Linked DNA regions of Homo sapiens: regions 1 and 2 are each linked to region 3. The links are contacts of gene promoters, found by promoter capture Hi-C in blood cells and fetal thymus (Javierre and others, 2016). All regions are on one chromosome and are shown on one strand. Each heading gives the region's core, a stretch centred on a gene start or on the middle of the fragment in contact. The rest is flanking DNA. Distances are from core to core; before and after follow the strand shown. Region 1 has its middle 32 kb from the start of DNAAF10. Region 2 overlaps PPP3R1 (protein phosphatase 3 regulatory subunit B, alpha). Region 3 holds the start of CNRIP1 (cannabinoid receptor interacting protein 1).

Region 1 (2,700 bases), core at 71-2,570, 190 kb before region 3:
ACTCTTCCTGGGTGACAGAGCAAGACTCAGTCTCAATTAAAATAAAAAAGTGTTGTATAAAGGGTATTGCTGAGTGATCTGGTTTTAAGTTGGCTTAGGGATAGAGTTGGATCAGAACACCATAAGCAAAGTTCAGTTGTTAAAGAATCCTTCATAAAATTCCTCCACCATGACTGTATAAATGCAGCTGTACTTGGTCACAGCCCTTTTACCTAGAATCTCATGCTTCAAGTTAAAAACACAAAGTCAAAATCCTGTTCCTTCATTCAAGCTTGATGTTTGATGTAAAATATACAAAACCTATGGACAACTGCATTAATGGCCATGCACTGTGAGGATAATCTGCATCTGCTTTCACTGTGCTGTCCTGATTAATAACCATTTTTCTGGTTCTGGGGTTGAGGACAAGGGTTTAGCCTCTAGATCCCTACACAGTAACAAAGATTCACAGTTTTCATACTGCCATTTGTCCATCCTAGACCCAGTAGGGAAAATGGATGAGTAAAGAATTTCTCACCACTCCAGGCAATATGCAGGTACTTAGGGTGGAATAATAGAGGACATTGTCCTAGCAGCCCTGAGTCCTCAGCTGGTTGGACAATGCACAGGACTTCTGTTAGCAGGTCCTGATAAGTCTGAGTGCAGCATGGGCCCAGTGCCCCCAAGCTCTCAGAGCAGCATTAAGCCCCGTTTTATTGGGACTGCTGGGTATGGCCCTGAGAATGGCGCCTGGCAGTCTAGTCTCATCCAAAGCAGGGAGGTGGGGCTCCACAACACAGTGAGAGTGGCCAGACATTCGGAGATAGAGGTTTCCTGGGTAAGCATAACCAACCTGCCTTTTAAAAAAACATAGCTAGCAGATGCCAACGCCACCGGAAGCCCTGTACTACCAGCGTGGTCAACTCCACCGTGTTCTTAGAAATTGCCATCGACAGTGAGCCCTTGGGCCGCATCTCCATCAAGCTGTTTGCAGACAAGATTCCAAAGACAGCAGAAAACTTCTGTGCTCTGAGCACTGGAGAGAAAGGATTTGGGTATAAGGGTTCCTGCTTTCACACAATTATTCCAGGGTTTATGTGTCAGGGTGGTGACTTCACACGCCATAATGGCACTGGTCCATCTATGGGGAGAAATTTGATGACGAGAACTTCATCCTGAAGCATAAAGGTCCTGGCATCTTGTCCATAGCAAACGCTGGACCCAACACAGATGGTTCCCAGTTTTTCATCTGCACTGCCAAGACTGAGTGGTTGGATGGCAACCATGTAGTCTATGGCAAGGTGAAAGAAGGCATGAATATTGTGGAGGCCATGGAGCACTTTGGGTCCAGGAATGGCAAGACCAGCAAGATCACCATCGCTGACTGTGGACAACTCTAATCAGTTTGACTTGTGTTTTGTCTTAACCACCAGACCATTCCTTCTGTAGCTCAGGAGAGCACCCCTCCACCCCATTTGCTCGTAGTATCCTAGAATCTTTGTACTCCCGCTGCAGTTCCATGCTTTCCTTATTCCCTTCCATGCCTAGCTGGATTGCAGAGTTAAGTTTATGATTATGAAATAAAAACTAAATAATAACAACAGCAACAAAAGCATAGCTAAAAGCCAATTGCCCACATATTTTTCAAACGAGCCATAGCGCCTGATTGCAGATTGCTGTTATAATCAGGTTGCACAACCCAGCTTCATATCCGAAGCCTGCATGTTTCACTTACTTTAGAGGACAGTCTGGTGGCCAAAGGAAAAAAGAAAAACTAATTACAAAGTAGCATTTCCCTGGAAGGTTCCAGGCCACCCCATAAGAATTATTCCAGAAATCCCTTACTAAAACACTCTATAATTTACCACCACACTTAGCGAAGTGCTGTAAGTTAAAGAATGGAAACATATTTGCAGTAAAAATTGCACAATAGCCTAGAGCTTCAGGGTTCTGAGACGGTTGTTTTTTTTTAGGCTTCGCTAAGGTCTGGATGCATTATTTTAAATACTGTCAACACCTGTCTCTAATTCCACTCTCACAGAAAGACTTCAAAACAATTACACAGAATCTCAGATAAATGGAGATGAACAAGGTTCTCATTTGGCAAACCTAGGCATTTTGGCACCTAAGGGTTCATCCCTCACTACATATGAATGATGCGCCATTTTGGTTTTTGCATCAGTTTGGTTTACATGGTCTAGTGCTGGAGAGCCTCATCATTTCTTGGCATACTGAAACACAAAGCCACGGATTAGGAGAGAGGAGAGTCCAATGACTCCTGGTCCAGGAGGCTACCTGTTTTTCACAGGGCATCATTCTCTAGATTCAGGAGAGTAAACCCATTTTATCTCACTTGCCAGCAGTTGGTAGTGGCTCCTAGCAGAGTGTGATAAAGCTTCTGAGGCTCAGGAAGAATGAGTGGCATGATTGATTAGTCATGTCTGCAATAAATTAGGGGAAGGGAAGGGTGTACGTAGATGGGATAGGAGTATCTGCATTTGAAGCAATGTATTTCATCAATTCAAATGAGCACATCCTTCTGCCCATTTATGCATCTTTGAAATTAGGATGCATCTTATAATCACTACACCAGATTGTCTTTTCCAAAACTAGCCACAGTATTTCAAGTCTCACATGCTTTTTTTTTTTTTTTTTTTTTTTTTTTTCTGTTTTTTGAGATGGGGGTCTCACTCTGTCGCACAGGCTGGAGTCCAGTGGCAC
Region 2 (2,700 bases), core at 172-2,671, 140 kb before region 3:
ACACTAAATCTAATACTTCCAACCTTACCTGTTTCTATGGCGCTTGTCACTCTATATTGTAATTATTGTGTCTGCCTGCCACCCTAAGGCTTATATTTTGGATACTCAGTATCTGGTACGATTTTCTGACATACACTTTACATATGTATTCACTGATACATTGCCTGGGAGATGGGCCTGAGAGAAGAGCATTTTCTTAGGTATTCGTGGCTGGCAAGAGACCCATGGAGTTTCCTCCTAGTCACTCGCTCCTGAAGAGCTGGGCTCCAACTCTCATGCCACCTAGAACTAGGAATGGTATGCAAGAAAGCTCATGCTCCTTGGATAGTCATCTTGTCTACTTCTAAGACTGTTAGAAGTAGGTTTAAAAAAAGGGCCGGGTGTGGTGGCTTAAGCCTGTAATCCCAACACTGGGAGGCCAACATGGGAGGATCGCTTGAGCCCAGGAGTTCAAGACCAGCCTGGCAACATAACAACACCCTGTCTTAACAAAACAAAAACAGCCAGGTACTGGCATGCATCTGTGGTTCCAGCTACTCTGGAGGCTGAGGTGGGAGGATTGCTTGACCCCAGAAGACTGAGACTGCAGTGAGCTGTGATCATCCCACTGCACTCCAGCCCAGATGAACAGAACAAGACCCTGTCTCAAAAAAAAGAAAAGGAGCTCTGGGCCTTAAATCCATCTACTTGCTTAGGTCTAACAAACCTTTACTCCTGGGATGTTTTAACAAGTCACAGAACCCATTGTAACTAGTGCACATCTGGTGATACAGGTGTTCTGGATATAAAACATCCCCAACTTATCTGGCCCAGGGATGTCATTTGCCAGAGCATCTCAAGTGCCTATTACAGTGATGGACATGTAGTAGGGACTGTAAAGTTGAATAAATGAAAGCAAAGTTACCAAGTAAATGTAATCTCAAGAAATGCCAATTTTACCTTTTAAAAATACTGAATAGCATTTATTATAAAATCACAACCTGCATAAACAGGGTATCACATTAATTTATTAATTATTTATTGGGTAAACACTAAGAGCTAGGTAATACTCTGGACAACTGGGCTGGGGCTATCAGTGAACAAGAGACAAATCACTACCCTTTTGGAGCTTTCATTTTATTCAGTAGTCAGGGAATACAAAATACGTAAGTAAACTGTGTCAGAAAAGAATAAATGCCATTGTAGAAGGAAAAATATAGAGGAGGAAAGAAGAGCCAGGCGTATCTGTATTTTTTAATAGGGTAGCCAGGACAGTTCCTTTTGAGCTAGGCTGTAACTGAACAAACACCTGAAGGCATTAGCTATGAGATACTGGGAAAGGAAAGGGGCAAAAAGGGACTGATAGCGCAAGGGCCTAAGAGACACAAACCCAAGACTCCAGGTACCACCGGAGGCTAACATGGCTGGAGTAGAGAGAGGGGTAGCAGTAAGGGAAGTCATGGCAGGAGGTGATGGGAGAGTACTACAGGAATTTGTAGGTTTTTATAGAGATTAAATGTCACTTTACCAGACTGTTTTTAAGAATTTAAAAGCCTGAGAGGAAAAAAAATTCTCATAGCTATGGAAACCATCAAAGACCACTGAATACATTCAAGCAAGTTTCAAATATTTTATTTTCTTATTCATACAGTATGAAGTTTTCTAAAGATCCCACAACATGACGTATCATGCAGAAGAAAAACTAAACATTCAACATAAACCATCCCCTCCCTTACCCACCCCCACACACAAACTAAAAAAAAAAAAAAAAAAAAAGAAAAAGAAAAAACCCTCATTCCCCGGTAAGGAAATAATGTTTACACTATTTTTCTGTAACGCCAGCCAAGATATGCACAAGCAAGAGAAATAGAAAGCATTTGCTAAAATATTTGTAACAAATACTTATGTACAAAAAATTCACAAAAGGCTAGTTCCCCCTTGAAGCAGAGCACATGGCAGTTGACACTGGAACAGTTCAAACCACTGGCTGGGATTATAAGCCATGCCACTGATCCAGAGGAAGAAAGTTACATGTAGTGGAGATTTTCAGTCTGAACATTAACATTTCCAAAGTTTGGCAACATTATCTTTTAAAATTATGCAAATTATGTAAACAAGAGGTACATTTTAAATTGATCTACATGCAAAACTCCATGTCATGCAAGGACACCAAGCACCGGGATTTTTCTCTCACAGACAGAGCCCATGATGTGCAGCACTCAGTTGAAGGAACAGCGATGGCAGGCAGGTGTGCTCAATTTCAGATTGATTCACCTTGATTCAACCTGCCCTTTTCCACTGATTTTAAAACCAGTTTTTATAGAGAAACTATAAAGGGAAAGACTACTGTCATACAAAGCTAACCAAAATGTTTTTCTTCCAGCTAACAGTACCTTTGCAGAAATGGGAAGGGATAAGATCAAACAGTAGAACATGATACACTACTTTTATATCACACAAATTTATTAAGTTATCCATTACCAATTATATGGGCAAATCAAGAAAAAAAAACCAGTATGCATGCTCTATCCCTCGTGGTAAAGAAATTTAAGTGGCATAAATTTGGATACAATTTTGCTCTTCTGTGGCATATAGATTAGCAAGATTTCTCACACTTAAACCACAAATATATGTGGGTGTTTAGATACATACATGCATATTAAATATCACCAGTTTTTTAGATTAGCTGCAAGTCTTTTGAAACAAGGGAATTCATGATTC
Region 3 (2,700 bases), core at 159-2,658:
GGGATGTTGCTAATCCCAGGCACCATCACCAGCCTGAACAGAAAACTCAGGAGAAAAAGAACAGCATACGGCATGGAAAACCGTGAAACTAGGCCAGAGAAGGGGCGGCCGCTCTCTTACTAGTGTCTGCTGCTCCACCCCAGGGTCCCAGCCACTGAATGGCGAAGGGAGTGGGGAGCATCCCTCAGGGAGCCCCAGTAATCACCCCTCCCCTGCCTTTCCACCTCATTCCTCCTTTCTCCCTCCTTCAGCCTTGCGGGCAGACCCTGTGGGCCGCCTGGACCGCGCGCAGGAGGGCTGGGATTGCGGTGGCTGAACCCTGCGGACCTCTCCCATCTGCTCCACCCCGACCGCCTGCGGTTCCGCGCCCAAGGCTGGACAGAAGGCAGGAGAAATTTATAAGAAACAGACAAGCAAAAACCCTGGCTTCTTGTCACTGATTTTAAAGAACCCACTGAGGTCACTGCGATGGGTGGAGGGAAGCGAGAATGGAGGAATACAAGCCAAAGGGAAGGAAGGGGACGAAGGCGGACAGGGAGTGACCTCTTCCTCCAACCCCCGGGCCCGCTGGGAGCGGCGCGAGGCCAGAGGCCCTTGAGAGGCTCGGGCTGTCCTGGGGGCCTCAGTCCTCTGCCTGTACCCCATGGGGGACCCTGCTGCCACCAGGCGCCCCGCACTCACTCGACCTGCAGCGTGCTGGGTTTAATCTTCACCTCAACCTTGTAGGAGGAGCCGGTGAGCAGCTTGATGGTGCGGTTCTGGCCGAAGCGCTGCCCGTCCACCTTGTAAAAGACCGGGCCGTCATTAGGCTGGATGCGCAGCGCGATGGAGAGGCGCACGAGGCCCGGCAGGTCCCCCATGTCTGGGCGAGGGTCTGGCGCGGCGGCTCCGGGGGGCGGAGGACAGCGCCGGCTGCGGCCGAGTGGCTGGAGCGCGAGGGGCGGAGAGGAAGCGCGGGGAGGGTGAGGGAGGTGGTGGAGCTGAGGCTGCCGCTAGGAACCCGCGCCGTCGCCGCCGTCCGCCCGGGCTTTTGAGGAGCAGCTCCTTAGGCTGTGGCCCCCCTCCCCACTCGGCGAGGAAGCGGGCCCAAGAGACGGCTCCAAGGCCGCGCGCTTCCCCATCCCCCGCTCCAGTGCTGCGCCCTCCACGCACCCGAAGGCTCGCTCTGGCCCGCAGGCCGCCGCGCAGATCCGCGCAGCTGGGGGCGAGGGAGTTAATCCTGTTTACGCACCACAATCCCCTTCAGCTGGGGAAGCGGACATTTAGGCTCCTCCTAGAACAGCCCCGGGCAGGAGGAGGAGAGGTTTGGGAGGCACTGGGAAGGCGCTGGAGTTAAGCGACCACTATGCCAAGGAGCGAGACCCCCGGAATCTGGATACCGCCTCGGCCAGCTACGTGAGGTGGACACTGCTGCTCGCGGATCCGGCGCCAGCCAGGCGGGAGGAGGCTGAGGGGGGGTAAAGGGAGGCGGGAAGGGGGGACAGGAAACCGCTAGCCGGTGATTTAAATTTCAGGAAATATGAGTCTTTCCAAAGCTTAGGGGAAATGGCCGAGGAAAGGCGCAATTCCACGTGATGGAGCCACGCTGGATGAGGAATGGATGCAAGAGGAAGAAAATAACCATATTCAAGGAGCTACATCTTCTTGTGGGTGTACATTTCCATTATACGTATGCTCGTCCCAAAAATGACACATACATAAATATATGTAATGAATCACATATATTTACACAGATTTTGAAGGGTGAGCTATTAACCCTGTAAAAGGCAACTGACATGAGCCTAAGGCATTCTGGTGACAAAATGGCCAAGAGGTGGGATGGGTCAAAGGATTATTGGCAGGGGGCCATATGCGACACCGCAGAGTTTAGATTTGCATATTAAGCGTGATTAGACAGTTTTCGTGGCAGAGGTCGGTAGACAGCTGACTTTTGGAAGCGAGGGGAGACTCAGGGGGTGAGGACTATACTGGGAATGGCTTCCCGGAGCAGAGAGAGCACCTGCTTCAGCACCACCCAGATGGATAGTACCAGAGCCAGGGAGCACACCTGGGAAATGAAGTGGGCTAGTGAGAACAAATGGGTAGGGATGCGTTTCCTTGGCAGTTTTTGTTTACCCAAGTTAGACTGCTCTTTTTTAAGAAATAATAAGCTATACATATAATATATATGTAATATGGGTGTTTATTGCAACATTGGTTGCAAAAATAAAAATAAAACCTAAATGAAATGTTAACCAATAAATAAATGGCTGAATAAATTCTTATATACCCACACTATAGAACGTTACACAACTATCAAAATAATGAAATATAGGTTGCATTGGCAAACACACAGGCAAAAACTGTTAATGATAAAAGTGGGATGGCTGGGAAACAAAGCCTGAGGGCGAGCATTTTGTCTGTTTTGTTTGTTGCTGTTTCCCCAGCATGCCAAAATAGTGCCTGACACATAGTAGGTGCTCCAGAAATCGTTGTTGAATTGACTTACGGTTGTGGTCTTAATCATGTCCATATGTAAATTCTTTCACATCTTTAAAATTAATTAGATCCTTGCGATTTACCTGGAATGATGAAAAGAAATCTAATTGCAAGTAGCATCTCTAGTGTTTTAGAAAAATGAAAATTTAAAAAGAATATAAATGTGTATGTTTGTATTAGCTCTTTTAAAAGAATGAGAGAGTTACACAGTAAACTTAATGT

The links. Contacts are between HindIII fragments. The CHiCAGO score rates a contact against its expected background, and 5 or more counts as called.
Region 1: a fragment that was not itself captured here is called in contact with the fragment with the promoter of CNRIP1 in region 3 in 10 of 17 cell types (M0 macrophages, erythroblasts, endothelial precursors and 7 more); the score reaches 8.2 in M0 macrophages.
Region 2: a contact is called between a fragment that was not itself captured here and the fragment with the promoter of CNRIP1 in region 3, in 1 of 17 cell types (erythroblasts). The highest score is 5.4, in erythroblasts.

The regions. Positions count from the first base shown.
Region 1 is chr2:68,124,369-68,127,068 of GRCh38, forward strand. It overlaps the pseudogene PPIAP64. Among named protein-coding and RNA genes, the nearest start is that of DNAAF10, 32 kb to the right of the region's middle. The HindIII fragment of the contact is 2,103 bases long and covers 270-2,372 here.
Region 2 is chr2:68,177,262-68,179,961 of GRCh38, forward strand. PPP3R1 (protein phosphatase 3 regulatory subunit B, alpha) reads right to left here. Exons shown (of 6, transcript NM_000945.4): 6 at 1,596-2,700. Among named protein-coding and RNA genes, the nearest start is that of PNO1, 21 kb to the left of the region's middle. The HindIII fragment of the contact is 4,701 bases long and covers 1-2,700 here.
Region 3 is chr2:68,318,541-68,321,240 of GRCh38, forward strand. CNRIP1 (cannabinoid receptor interacting protein 1) reads right to left here and starts at 1,409. Exons shown (of 3, transcript NM_015463.3): 1 at 682-1,409. The coding sequence starts at 860. The HindIII fragment of the contact is 3,613 bases long and covers 1-1,533 here.